Regions from separate parts of the Homo sapiens genome. Here regions 1, 2 and 4 are each linked to region 3. Evidence: promoter capture Hi-C in 16 types of primary human blood cells and fetal thymus (Javierre and others, 2016). All regions are on one chromosome and are shown on one strand. The core of a region is centred on a gene start or on the middle of the fragment in contact, and the rest is flanking DNA. Distances in the headings are between cores, read along the strand shown.

Region 1 (2,700 bases), core at 155-2,654, 440 kb before region 3:
TCACAGTAGAGGCTGTGGGATGGGCAGCCACAGTCAGAGTTGAGACGGAAAAATTTTGCTGAGTTTCAGAAGCTAGACAGCCACCGGCCAATGTTGAGGCAGGAACTATGGGAAAGCAACAGGGGAGACGCCAAAACCCAGCAGAGCAATGGTCCTGCAGTGAGCCTGTTGTGAGAACAGGCTTTGAGTGACAGCAACAGTGAATGCCAGTGGAGAAGTAATTGCAGATCAAAGGTTTCTCTGAGAATGTCAAGGTTATGCATAAGTCCTCCAGAGCCTCTGACCACTCCCAGGGAGATGGGAAGGAAAAGGAAGATGAGGTGAAACAAAATGACTAGGTACCCCCAAAGAGACTGAGTTTAAGGTAAATGCAGTGGTTCTCAACCAAGGACAATTTTACACCTCCAGGGACATTTGATATGATCTGGAGACATTTTGTCGTTGGCACAACTAGGAAGGGCAGGAGGCTGCTGGCATCTTATGAGTGGAGGCCAGGGATGCCGCTAAACATCCCAAAACATGTGGGACAACCTTCACAACAAAGAATTATCCTGTCCAAAATGTGAAGAGTGTTGAGGTTGAGAAACCCTGAGCCAAAGTAACTGAGTTACTACTGTCGGCAGAAATGAGACTATGAGAAATGTTTTAAAAAGAAATTTACACTTTTGCACACCCAAATTCCTATAACTGAACACACACACACACACACAATAATACAAAGATGGAGGTTTGAAGAAAATGGGGGAGTGGAAGTTAAAATGGTAGTACACAGCCTAAGAAATGTCAAATTTTTTTTTAAGCTCACAACAGCACTTTTTTTTTTAGGCAAGGAGAAGTCTTGCTGAAAAGTTACAAGCAGTCAAAACGTGACTGTTAGTGGCACTATTTTGACCTTGTAGATTTTGCTTCTCCTTGGTCAAAAAAAGGGTATGCACACTACACTTTCCCCAGCTGGGCAAAAAAGAGGGCAGAGGAAACTGGAATAGACTTCTACTCTACTGACACTGCTCCTCAGACCCAACATCAAGCTAGAAAAGCCCTGGCTGCTCAGTCTAGTGGTTGTTGTTCCACCACTGAGTGACACAGGCCATGCTATATTTGCAAGAAAAAAATGAGCAGGAAAAACAAGTGTAGGTCACTGGGGATGAGCAGGCATCCACCCCTTCAAAACTCTGCATGGAAGAGGTAATCCTTATAAGAGGCACAGCTTACCAAGGCACAGACCCTCCAGTTCTTGTTGTAGCTGAATAAGATGGTAATATCCTGGCTGCTTGGTTCAAAGTCTGTGACTCAGCAGTGCATTCTGGTATCACAGACCTGGGGATCACCATCAAGTTCCTCTGCCTGGGGAACCGGATCCAAACCTGGATCGCCTGGCTATGATCACCTGGCTATGATTGCCTTGATCTTGGGATCCTCCAGGAGGGAAGGGTCCTCAGCCTTGGCCCAGAGGCTGTCAGGAGAGCCAAGGGGACTACAGGCAGTCACCATAATGCCTTTAGAGTGGCAGTACTGGATTAACTTCTGTGTGAGGCACAGGTGGCACTCCATTTGGTTAACTGCTGGCTTATACTTTAACCCAGGTTTGTTTAAGATCCTCTCAACCTGGAGATGGTTGAAGGTGGAGATGCCAGTAGCTTTCACCAGCCCTTCATCCACCAGCTCTTCATGGCCACCCGTGTGTCCACAATGTCAGTGTCACTGGGAACCATGTTGCCTGACTCATCCAATGGGAAGGATTCCTTCCCACGCTTAAAGCTGGCTGGCCAGTGAACAAGGTAGTAGTCCAGGTAGCCCTGCTTAAGGTCACTGAGCATCTTCTGACAGGCTCCTTTCACCAGGCCCTTCCCATGGTATGTGCACCAGAGTTTGCTGATGATGAAGAGCTCCTCACGCTTCACCATCTGCCCCCTGAGCTTCTCCTGAATGGCCACCCCTATCTCATTCTCATTCTCGTACCTGGGCTCAGTGGATGTGGCGGTACCTGATATCAATCGCCACCTTCACAGCCTTGGTCACCTGGCCTGGAGGGGACATTCAGATGCCCAGTCCCAGGATGGCCATCTTGGTGCCATTGTTGAGCATGAGGTGGCTGGCCATGGATGCAGTGCTTCCCAGACCCCTTCCCAGAAACATGCACAGAAACTTCAATATTTAAATATTAGGTAGGAAAAACCAGTAAAGAAAGACTTGGAAGAGGCCAGGTGTGGTGGCTCATGCCAGTAATCCCAGCACTTTGGGAGGATGAGGCGGACGGATCACAAGGTCAGGAGATCGAGACCATCCTGGCTAACACAGTGAAACCCCATTTTTACTAAAAATACAAAAAATTAGCTGGGCGTGGTGGTGGGTGCCTGTAGTCCCAGCTACTTGAGAGGCTGAGGCAGGAGAATGGCATGAACCCAGGAGGCGGAGCTTGCAGTGAGCTGAGATTGCACCACTGCACTCCAGCCTGAGCGACAGAGCGATACTCTATCTCAAAAAAAAAAAAAAAAAAAGAAAAAGAAAAAGACTTGGAGGAGGGACAGCAAGGTACAAAAGACACCAAGAGAGTGTATATTATCACAACAGCTAAGGAAAAAGGACAGACGAGCTCAAGAAGGACAGAGTAAACTGTGTAAAATGCCCTAAGAAGTCAAGATGATAAGCTAAATGTATAGATTAGTTGAATTCTGCTTCTTGTCTATTAGGGGAGGTGGG
Region 2 (2,922 bases), core at 198-2,697, 460 kb before region 3:
AAAATCCAGCATCCCTTTATGATTAAAACTCTCAGCAAAATTGGCATACAAGGGACCTACCTCAATATAATAAAAGCCATCTATGACAAACCCGCTGCCAACATAATACTCATGGGGAAAAGATGAAAGCATTCCCTCTGAGAACTGGAACAAAACAAGGAGGCCCACTCTCACCATTCCTCTTCAACATGGTATTGGAAGTCCTAGCCAGAACAGTCAGACAAGTGAAAGAAATAAAGGGCATCCAAATCAGTAAAGAGGAAGTCAAACTGTCACTGTTTGCTGATGGTATGATTGTTTACCTAGAAAACCCTAAACACTCCAGTTTCCAGATACAAAATTAATATACACAAATCAGTGGCTCTTCTATACATCAACAGCGACCACACTGAGAATCAAGTCAAGAACTCAACCCCTTGTAAAATAGCTGCAAAAATAAATAAATAAATAAATGAAAACCAAAAAAAAAAAAAAAAAAAAACACCTTAGGAATACACTTAACCAAGGAGGTGAAAGACCTCTACAAAGAAAACTACAAAACACTGCTGAAAGAAATCATAGACAACACAAACAAATGGAAACACATCCCATGCTCATGGATGGATAGAATCAATATTGTAAAAATGACCATACTGCCAAAAGCCATCTACAAATTCAATGCAATTCTCATCAAAATATCACCATCATTCTTCACGGAATTAGAAAAAAACTATTCTAAAATTAATATGGAACTGAAAAAGAGCCTGCACAGCCAAAGCAAGACACGTAAAAAGAACACATCTGGAGGCATCATATTACCTAATTTCAAACTATAGTATAAGGCCATAGTCACCAAAACAACATGGTACTGGTATAAAAACAGGTACATAGACCAATGGAACAGAACAGAGCACCCAGAAATAAACCCAAATACTTACAGCCAACTGATCTTTGGCAAAGCAATCAAAAACATAAAGTGGGGAAAGGACACCGTTTTCAACAAATGGTGCTGGGATAATTGGCTAGCCACGTAGGAGAATGAAACTGGATCCTTATCTCTCACCTTACACAAAAATCTACTCAAGATGGATTAAGAACTTAAATCTAAGACTTGAAACTATGAAAATTCTAGAAGATAACATTGGAAAAACCCTTCTAGACATTGGCTTAGGCAAGGATTTCATGACCAAGAACCCAAAAGCAAATGCAATAAATACAAAGATAAATTGCTGGGACTTAATTGAACTAAAGAGCTTTTTCACAGCAAAAAAGAACAGTCAGCAGAGTAAACAGACAACGCACATCATCAAAATCTTTAGCACTCATCCCGTAATCTTCATTAACTCCCCAAAGCCACCCAACTAATAGTAGTAGTGATAAAATTATTGATATGGGCAAGAGATCAGTTGCTGTGTGAAGGCATCTTTTTTTTTTTTTTTTTTTTTTTTTTTTTTTTTTTTTTTTTGAGACGGAGTCTCGCTCTGTCGCCCAGGCCGGACTGCGGACTGCAGTGGCGCAATCTCGGCTCACTGCAAGCTCCGCTTCCCGGGTTCACGGCATTCTCCTGCCTCAGCCTCCCGAGTAGCTGGGACTACAGGCGCCCGGCTAATTTTTTGTATTTTTAGTAGAGACGGGGCTTCACCTTCTTAGCCAGGATGGTCTCGATCTCCTGACCTCATGATCCACCCGCCTCGGCCTCCCAAAGTGCTGGGATTACAGGCGTGAGCCACCGCGCCCGGCCGTGAAGGCATCTTAATTACTAGCTCAGGTTGATTCCTGGGCTAGGCACTCAACCCTTTTGATAGGACTCTTCTCCATCTCAGGTTCTCCCTCTCTATTGGATTCTTCCAGATTCCAGCTAAGTTCAAGTATTCCTCATTGTAATATTCTCCCTTAACCTTGTATCCACTCTGGCAACTGCTGACTCTTCACAGCTAAAGTTAGTGAAAAGCTGATGGCAGTGGAAGAATGGTTCAGAGTTGTCTCTGGGGTCAAGAGAAGGACTTTCGCTACAGAGTCCTGTTGAAGATCCCTGTGAACCACCTACCTGAGGTCATCCCTAACACCCTGTCAACTCCCACTCCCACAGCAGGTTTTGGGAGTCTACTGAAATTATACATTTTTTCTCTTTAAGTCTGGCTTATAAAGAGAGACAAAAAGCTGGGAAAAACAAAGAGAAACTTCTATTCATTAAAAAGGTCGAGGAGAAACTTCCTGAAGGCATGAAGTTGGTCAGCTTTATCTGTCTAGTTACAAAGAGGTAGCCACAGAAGACTGCCATTTATCCAAGTGAGATGAAATAGAAAAATATAGCAAAAAAAAAAAAAAAAACAAACCCAAGCAGAACATAAATAAGGCTAGAGCCACCTGATAGCAGATTTGAACCTTCTGCAAATGACATTAATGGCTGAGGGCTGTTTCACTCACAGCACAACCTTGAATGGAGAAAATCACCTGCCAGAAATTCAGGTGCCATTGAAAGAAACCCAAGTGCATGAATATTTTTATATTAGAAAAAGACAAATTCAGGAGAGCCATGTGTTGGATGCAGAGCCCCAGAAGATTGCAAAGCAATAAAATAGAAAAACAGGCAACCAAAATTGCAGGTCTAAAAGGATGTAGCATTCCTTGTCATAGTGAAGGAGGAAAGAAAGCAAGCAAACAACTAAAAGCTAAAAAGTTCAAAGTCAAATAATATCTGAAAGAAAAGAGGCTGATTATAGATGGTGACTCTATAGCAAGACCAGAGTCATAGGACCCCTCCTGCATTCAGACACAGGCACAACCTCCTTCATTAGATGTAAGTCTGCAGGAAAAACACAAAAAACAAAGACTGTCAAAGGTTAATCTTCCTACCACATATATTCAATTTCCAGAACTTTATCTCCCAGAACTTTCTGATAACATTCAGCAGAAAATTATAAAAATTTTAAAAGAGGCCAG
Region 3 (2,720 bases), core at 186-2,685:
GGCATGCCGATCTAGAGATCAAGTATGAAAAGAGTTCAAGGTTCTAGGTCTGTCATTGACAGTGACCTCAGATACATGTGAATAATTTAGGTCTTAATAACTTTAGGTCTCCTCAGTGGGTAACATTCCTTTTTTTTTTTTTTTTTTTTTTGAGACGGAGTCTCGCTCTGTCGCGCAGGCTGGAGTGCAGTGGCACCATCTCGGCTCACCACAACCTCTGCCTTCTGAGTTCAACGGATTCTCCTGCCTCAGCCTCCCGAGTAGCTGGGATTACAGACGTGCGTCACCACGCCCGGCTAATTTTTGTATTTTTAGTAGAGACGGGGTTTCACCATGTTGGCCAGGCTGGTCTCAAACTCCTGACCTCAGGTATCCACCCGCCTCGGCCTCCCAAAGTGCTGGGATTACAGACATGAGCCACCGCGCCCGGCCAACATTCTTCATGATAACATTTACCCAAGCATATTTGCTAAGAATTGTGAAATTAACCTAGCGCATTTAAGAAGGAAAATAAAAACTATCCCAAATTAATAGTAACATTGTAACATAAATCAATACGATTATCTTGAAGAAATGGGATGATTCTAGTGAAGCACTGAAATGTTTTGTTGTTTGGCCTAAACGGTTTTTGCACCGAACAAGAAACACCCTTTCTTGGATTGTCTTACCTTAAGCTTAAGTGACTTGATTACAGGTTCAGCTTTCTAACTGAAAAATACTTTAACCTGGCCCTATCCAAGGTCATTTTCTATTAGAATCTCCTAAACAACCCTTTACATCTAATTTTTCTTGCTCAACACAACAGAAGCCTCTTAAACACTCCCTTTCCTATTTGCTTGTTAAATTCTCCAGTTTGCCACGGCAAAATGTCGGAGGAAGTTAACTTGTAAAGGAACGGCAAGAAGAGAACTGAAATCGAAGGCATAATCTAAATGCAGGTGTGTAATCAGGTCGCAGGCATAGGGCAGTGGCTTGGGAGTCCCGGATTTGTCACCTCAGTAATTTAACTACTACTGAGGGTTGAGCGAAGTCACCTCAGCTGCGCTAGGGCAGGAGATCTGGGCACTTGGTCCCACCCGCCACCTCTCTCTCCCCAGCCTCCAAGGAGCGGGGAGAAGGCTCTGCCCTGCCCAGTGATGCCCTGGTTCCGGGAGGAGAGTCCCCGCTCAGGGTTCCCGCTGAGTGCCTCCTAAGCGCCACCTCTGAGGAGACGTCCCTTCCAGCGCCCGAGGGGCGTCTTACCCACAACAAACAGCTGCTCCAGCGCCTCGACCGCGACCGAGGAGCCCAGGGTGGAGGGTAAGGTGCATAACTCCAGGGAGGGGCCAGTGGAGACGGCAGCCGCCTGCACCAGCTTCTCGCCAGCGCCCAGCCCTGGGGTCCAGGGGCTCAGGGCCATTTTGCCGCTCTACTTGAGCGCCTCCTAAGCCAGAGCCAAGGATTGCCGGTTGCCACGGGCAACGAGGACACCGAGGTCGTGGGGCGCCCCCTCGTGGCCCGCACCTCTAGTAGGTACCCTCCTGGTTCTCTAATTTTATCCACGATAATTAAGCAGTCTGGGAAGAATGACTCTCTCTTTAGCTAATTTTTCCCCTTTCAATTTCCATTGCGTTAGTTCAGGCCTGTATCTTTTTTGTGGGCCACTGGAATCATAATAATGATCACTTTTGAGCGCATCTTTGTGCCGGATACTGCAGGAGAACCTTTATATACAGTAGCTCACTTAATCTTCACAAGGACTTTGTGAGCAGGCTCTTTTAGTACCTCCACTTTTACAGACACGTAAACTGAGGCGCGGGCGACTAAATGAACGGCTCAAGACCACAAGAGGATAATATTGGATTTAAAGTGACGTCTGGGCCGGGCGAGGTGGCTCACGCCTGTAGTCCCAGCACTTTGGGAGGCCAAGGCGGGAGGATCACCTGTGGTCATGAATTCAAAACCAGCCTAATCAACATGGTGAAACCCCATCTCTACTAAAAATACAAAAATTAGCCGGGCGTGGTGGCGCGTGCCTGTAGTCCCAGCTACTCAGGAGGCTGAGGCAGGACAATCGCTTGAACCCGGGAGGAAAAGGTTATAGTGAACCGAGATCTCGCCATTGCACTCCAGCCTGGGCGACAAGAGCTAAACTCCATCTCAAAATAATAAAATAAAATAATAAAGTGAAGTCTGTATGACTCTTTCTACTATGCTACAAAACCTTCTTTTGTACTAATTTAGAACTTTCCTTGTATCTAGTACATCACTGAGCACATTTTGCCTTGAATCATAGTGATTTTTCTCTGTCTTCCCATCGAACTGTGAGCTCTGTGATGACGGGGACAGGAGGATATTATTCATTTTTCTCTGCATCTCCAAAATTCAGCTTAGCATGAGGCTTAGGTTGAGTCTGTCAGTTCCTTTTCCTCTGGTGGGTTAGAGAGAAGCAAAGGTGATTCAACCCTCCTCTTCTTTTCTCTACAGATGGCAAAATTGAAATTAGAATGATAGTAACAATGACAATAGCTATCAATTGTTAAATGCTTATTTTGTTCCAGGCACTGTTTTAAATACTTTGCAGTACCCCATTTAACCCTCACAAATAATCTTTTGAGCTAGGTATTATTGCCTGCTTTGCAAGTGAGGGCACTGAGCTACATCCTAAACCACTGTGCAACACTGCCTTGGAGGGGACACAGCATACCAGTAGCAGAACTAGTTCTAGAATCCAGGCCTCC
Region 4 (2,873 bases), core at 19-2,518, 320 kb after region 3:
AATGCCTGTAAGTATACACCATGATTTATATCTGCCTTCTATTCAAAGTACCCACTATATTAAGCCAGGCCAGAAACCAAATCCAAACTTCAGAAGAAAGAATTCATAAGCTCATGTCGCCAAAAGTTTCCTGGGCAGTCCTTGCTTCAGGTTCAGCAGGATTGAGATGCTCATCAGAGATAGGGATTTATACTCATCTCTCAGACAGACATTCTTCCTGTAGTGGATGAAATGACAGTTGGCAGATAACATCTATTCCACCGACTTAGTCCACCCAGAAGTAATAGAACCATCTTTGATGGCAGCTCTAAGACGAATGTCCTGGAGATCCTCTCCATCAGCCCAACTTGGGGCATATGTGCACTCATTTAGGGTAGCGGTGGTTATAGTGTAAGGCAGGGTGACAAGCTCATCCCAGTTTGCCTGGGATTTGTCCAGTTTTAAAACTGAAAGTCCAAGGTCCCAGGAAACCCCCTCAGTTCCAAGCAAACCAGGAAGACTGGTCACCCTAGGTGGAGTCAGCCTTACTTTTTTTGTCTGGAATGAGTTCTCCACAGGAAAGAGCACTTCTGTTACAAGATGAAGAGGTGAGACGGGCTGAAGCAGGGGGAGTATTCATTTCGCCCAGGCCAGATCTATGTGATGCCTGGGTAGATGTGTGGGAAAAGCCCCATCCTGCCCACTTCTTGACTGTCTTTTCGATCAGGCTAGGCCTATGTGACTAGCCAGGGCTACCACTTCCTAGTGCTTCACTCCTCATCAAGTTCACCCAGGGCCCGAGGTTTCTCTCTCAGGATTCTTTGTACCCCCTCCTGGACCTTACCTACTCCTGGTTCCTGGCCTTGATCTGACTCTCCCCTCTGTGACCTGGTAGCTTGCTCTTTGGCTTTCATTCCTGTGCTCACCCTGGTTTCTGGCTTCTGTGTCTCTTTACCTCATAGTTACTGTGATCTGTCTGGTCTTCTGATGCCACTGCTGCATCAAGCTTGGATTTGGCCTGATATTTTATTGTTATTTCTTTTTGAGACAGGGTCTTGCTCTGTCACCCAGGCTAGGGTGCAGTGGTACATCACAGCTCACTACAGCCTTGACCTTTCAGGCTCAAGCAATCCTCCTATCTTAGCCTACCTAGTAGCTGGAACCACAGGTGTGTGCCACAATGCCCAGTTAATATTTTTTTATTTTTTGCAGAGGCACAGTCTCGCTATGTTGCCCAGGCTGATCTTGAACTCCTGGACTTAAGGGATCCTCCTGCTTTGGCCTTCCAAAGTGATAGAATTAGAGGCATGAGCCACCACGTCCAGTGGCCTGATATTCTTTCACTAGGGTGTTTGCGGCTATTTGCAGCTAAGATTTGCCAATGCCTCCCTACTCACGCAGTTCACCACTGCCCCCACCTGTTTCTAGGTGGAATTCAATATTGGTGTCCATCAAAATCTGCGCTAAATGTTGAGGTGGGAGCTTAATCCTTATACTCACGGCTCCCCCATTTCCCTATCTTACAATTCTGCAAGGTCGGTACTTTAATTCCCATTTCACAAATGAGGACGCTGAAGCTTAGGGGAGTGAAGTAATTTGCCCAAGTTCACAAAACCAGTCAAATTGGAAGTTAGAACTCACACTCTTGAGCTCTTTCTACTGTACCATGATGACTTGATCAGGTAATATGATGGTAGTAACTAGTTCTAGTAGCAAGGTCACAAATGGTAACTTCTAAAGACTATTATTTTTTAAAGTTCTGCTCAATGTATATATATCCTCATATTTTTGCCACTCAATAATTTCAAATATGTGATGCTTTTTAGAATTTTTAAATTAATTTCTACTACAATTTAAACAGTAGATAAATTATTTTAAGACATATTTTTTAAACTATGTTCCAGTAACTAACACCTTCTAGCCCTATAGTTCTACATTGATTCAACTTCAGTTACGAATATTACACAATTTCCCCTCATGAACCAAATATTGTTCTAAATAAGTAGTCTTCAGTGTGTGGCTAGTGACTTTCAGGGTTTGTGAGCTGTTTTCACAATAATGTTGATGTTATTTGCTTTTTCACTCTCATTGTCTCACAAATGCACAGTGGAGGTTTCCAGAAGCTACACGATCTAAGATTTTGTAATGGATTGACTGCAAAAGGAGTATGGGAATCCTAAATGTCTTCCCTTAAGTCAGACATTGGTTTTTTAAAAAAATGTAAAACCATGTCGTGTTCCTTACTACAGTTTTGTTTCATAAGATACGATTATCTTTATAAAAACATGTTTTTGTGTTAACATGTAATGAGTTTATTATTATTTCAAAATTAATAAATGTTTTAAATTTCTGAATTTTAACTTTTAATATGATTAATACCAATTGTAACTCACACAAACAAAAACTCCTTGGGGTCCTCAATAATTTTTAAAAGTATGAAGGAAACCAAAAAGTTTGAGAATAGCTGTTTCTAATCAAAAGATCTTTGTGGTGAAATTCTAAATTAAAAGCTACCATTAAATATGCTTCGATATTATTATCTCCAAAAAAACCCAATAACTTGTAATGAGAAACACCTGTCAGTCACTCATGGCTGTTCATCAACATACATTGTAGCTCACACTTGACTCCCTGTATTCGTGGCTCAAGCAGCACTACTGATGCTTAGCAACTCATTTAAATTAGAGGTAGAAACCACCAATAGGAAGAAAATTAGTGAGCAAGGCAAAGAATGTTTAGGAAGTCTTGAAGAAATAAACCTTTATTTCATTAAATGGAACATCCAGTTGGAAAATTCTTAATGACAATCTGAAGAATTGAGGCATTCAAAACAAGGATTGCAGATGAATTAAATAATCAATTCAGTTGAATTAGGAATAAGTAAACATGACAAG

The links. The method cuts DNA at HindIII sites, captures the fragments that hold promoters and counts their contacts. A CHiCAGO score of 5 or more calls a contact.
Region 1: a fragment that was not itself captured here is called in contact with the fragment with the promoter of CCDC175 in region 3 in 3 of 17 cell types (total CD8 T cells, naive CD4 T cells and naive CD8 T cells); the score reaches 6.4 in total CD8 T cells.
Region 2: a fragment that was not itself captured here is called in contact with the fragment with the promoter of CCDC175 in region 3 in 3 of 17 cell types (naive CD4 T cells, total CD4 T cells and total CD8 T cells); the score reaches 6.9 in naive CD4 T cells.
Region 4: a fragment that was not itself captured here is called in contact with the fragment with the promoter of CCDC175 in region 3 in 2 of 17 cell types (M1 macrophages and monocytes); the score reaches 8.0 in M1 macrophages.

The regions. Positions count from the first base shown.
Region 1 is chr14:59,134,322-59,137,021 of GRCh38, forward strand. It overlaps the pseudogene AKR1B1P5. Among named protein-coding and RNA genes, the nearest start is that of DAAM1, 53 kb to the right of the region's middle. The HindIII fragment of the contact is 8,528 bases long and covers 1-2,700 here.
Region 2 is chr14:59,111,625-59,114,546 of GRCh38, forward strand. No RefSeq gene overlaps it. Among named protein-coding and RNA genes, the nearest start is that of DAAM1, 76 kb to the right of the region's middle. The HindIII fragment of the contact is 7,010 bases long and covers 1-2,922 here.
Region 3 is chr14:59,575,377-59,578,096 of GRCh38, forward strand. CCDC175 (coiled-coil domain containing 175) reads right to left here and starts at 1,436. Exons shown (of 20, transcript NM_001164399.2): 1 at 1,243-1,436. The coding sequence starts at 1,399. The HindIII fragment of the contact is 5,306 bases long and covers 673-2,720 here.
Region 4 is chr14:59,896,572-59,899,444 of GRCh38, forward strand. No RefSeq gene overlaps it. Among named protein-coding and RNA genes, the nearest start is that of LRRC9, 22 kb to the right of the region's middle. The HindIII fragment of the contact is 571 bases long and covers 984-1,554 here.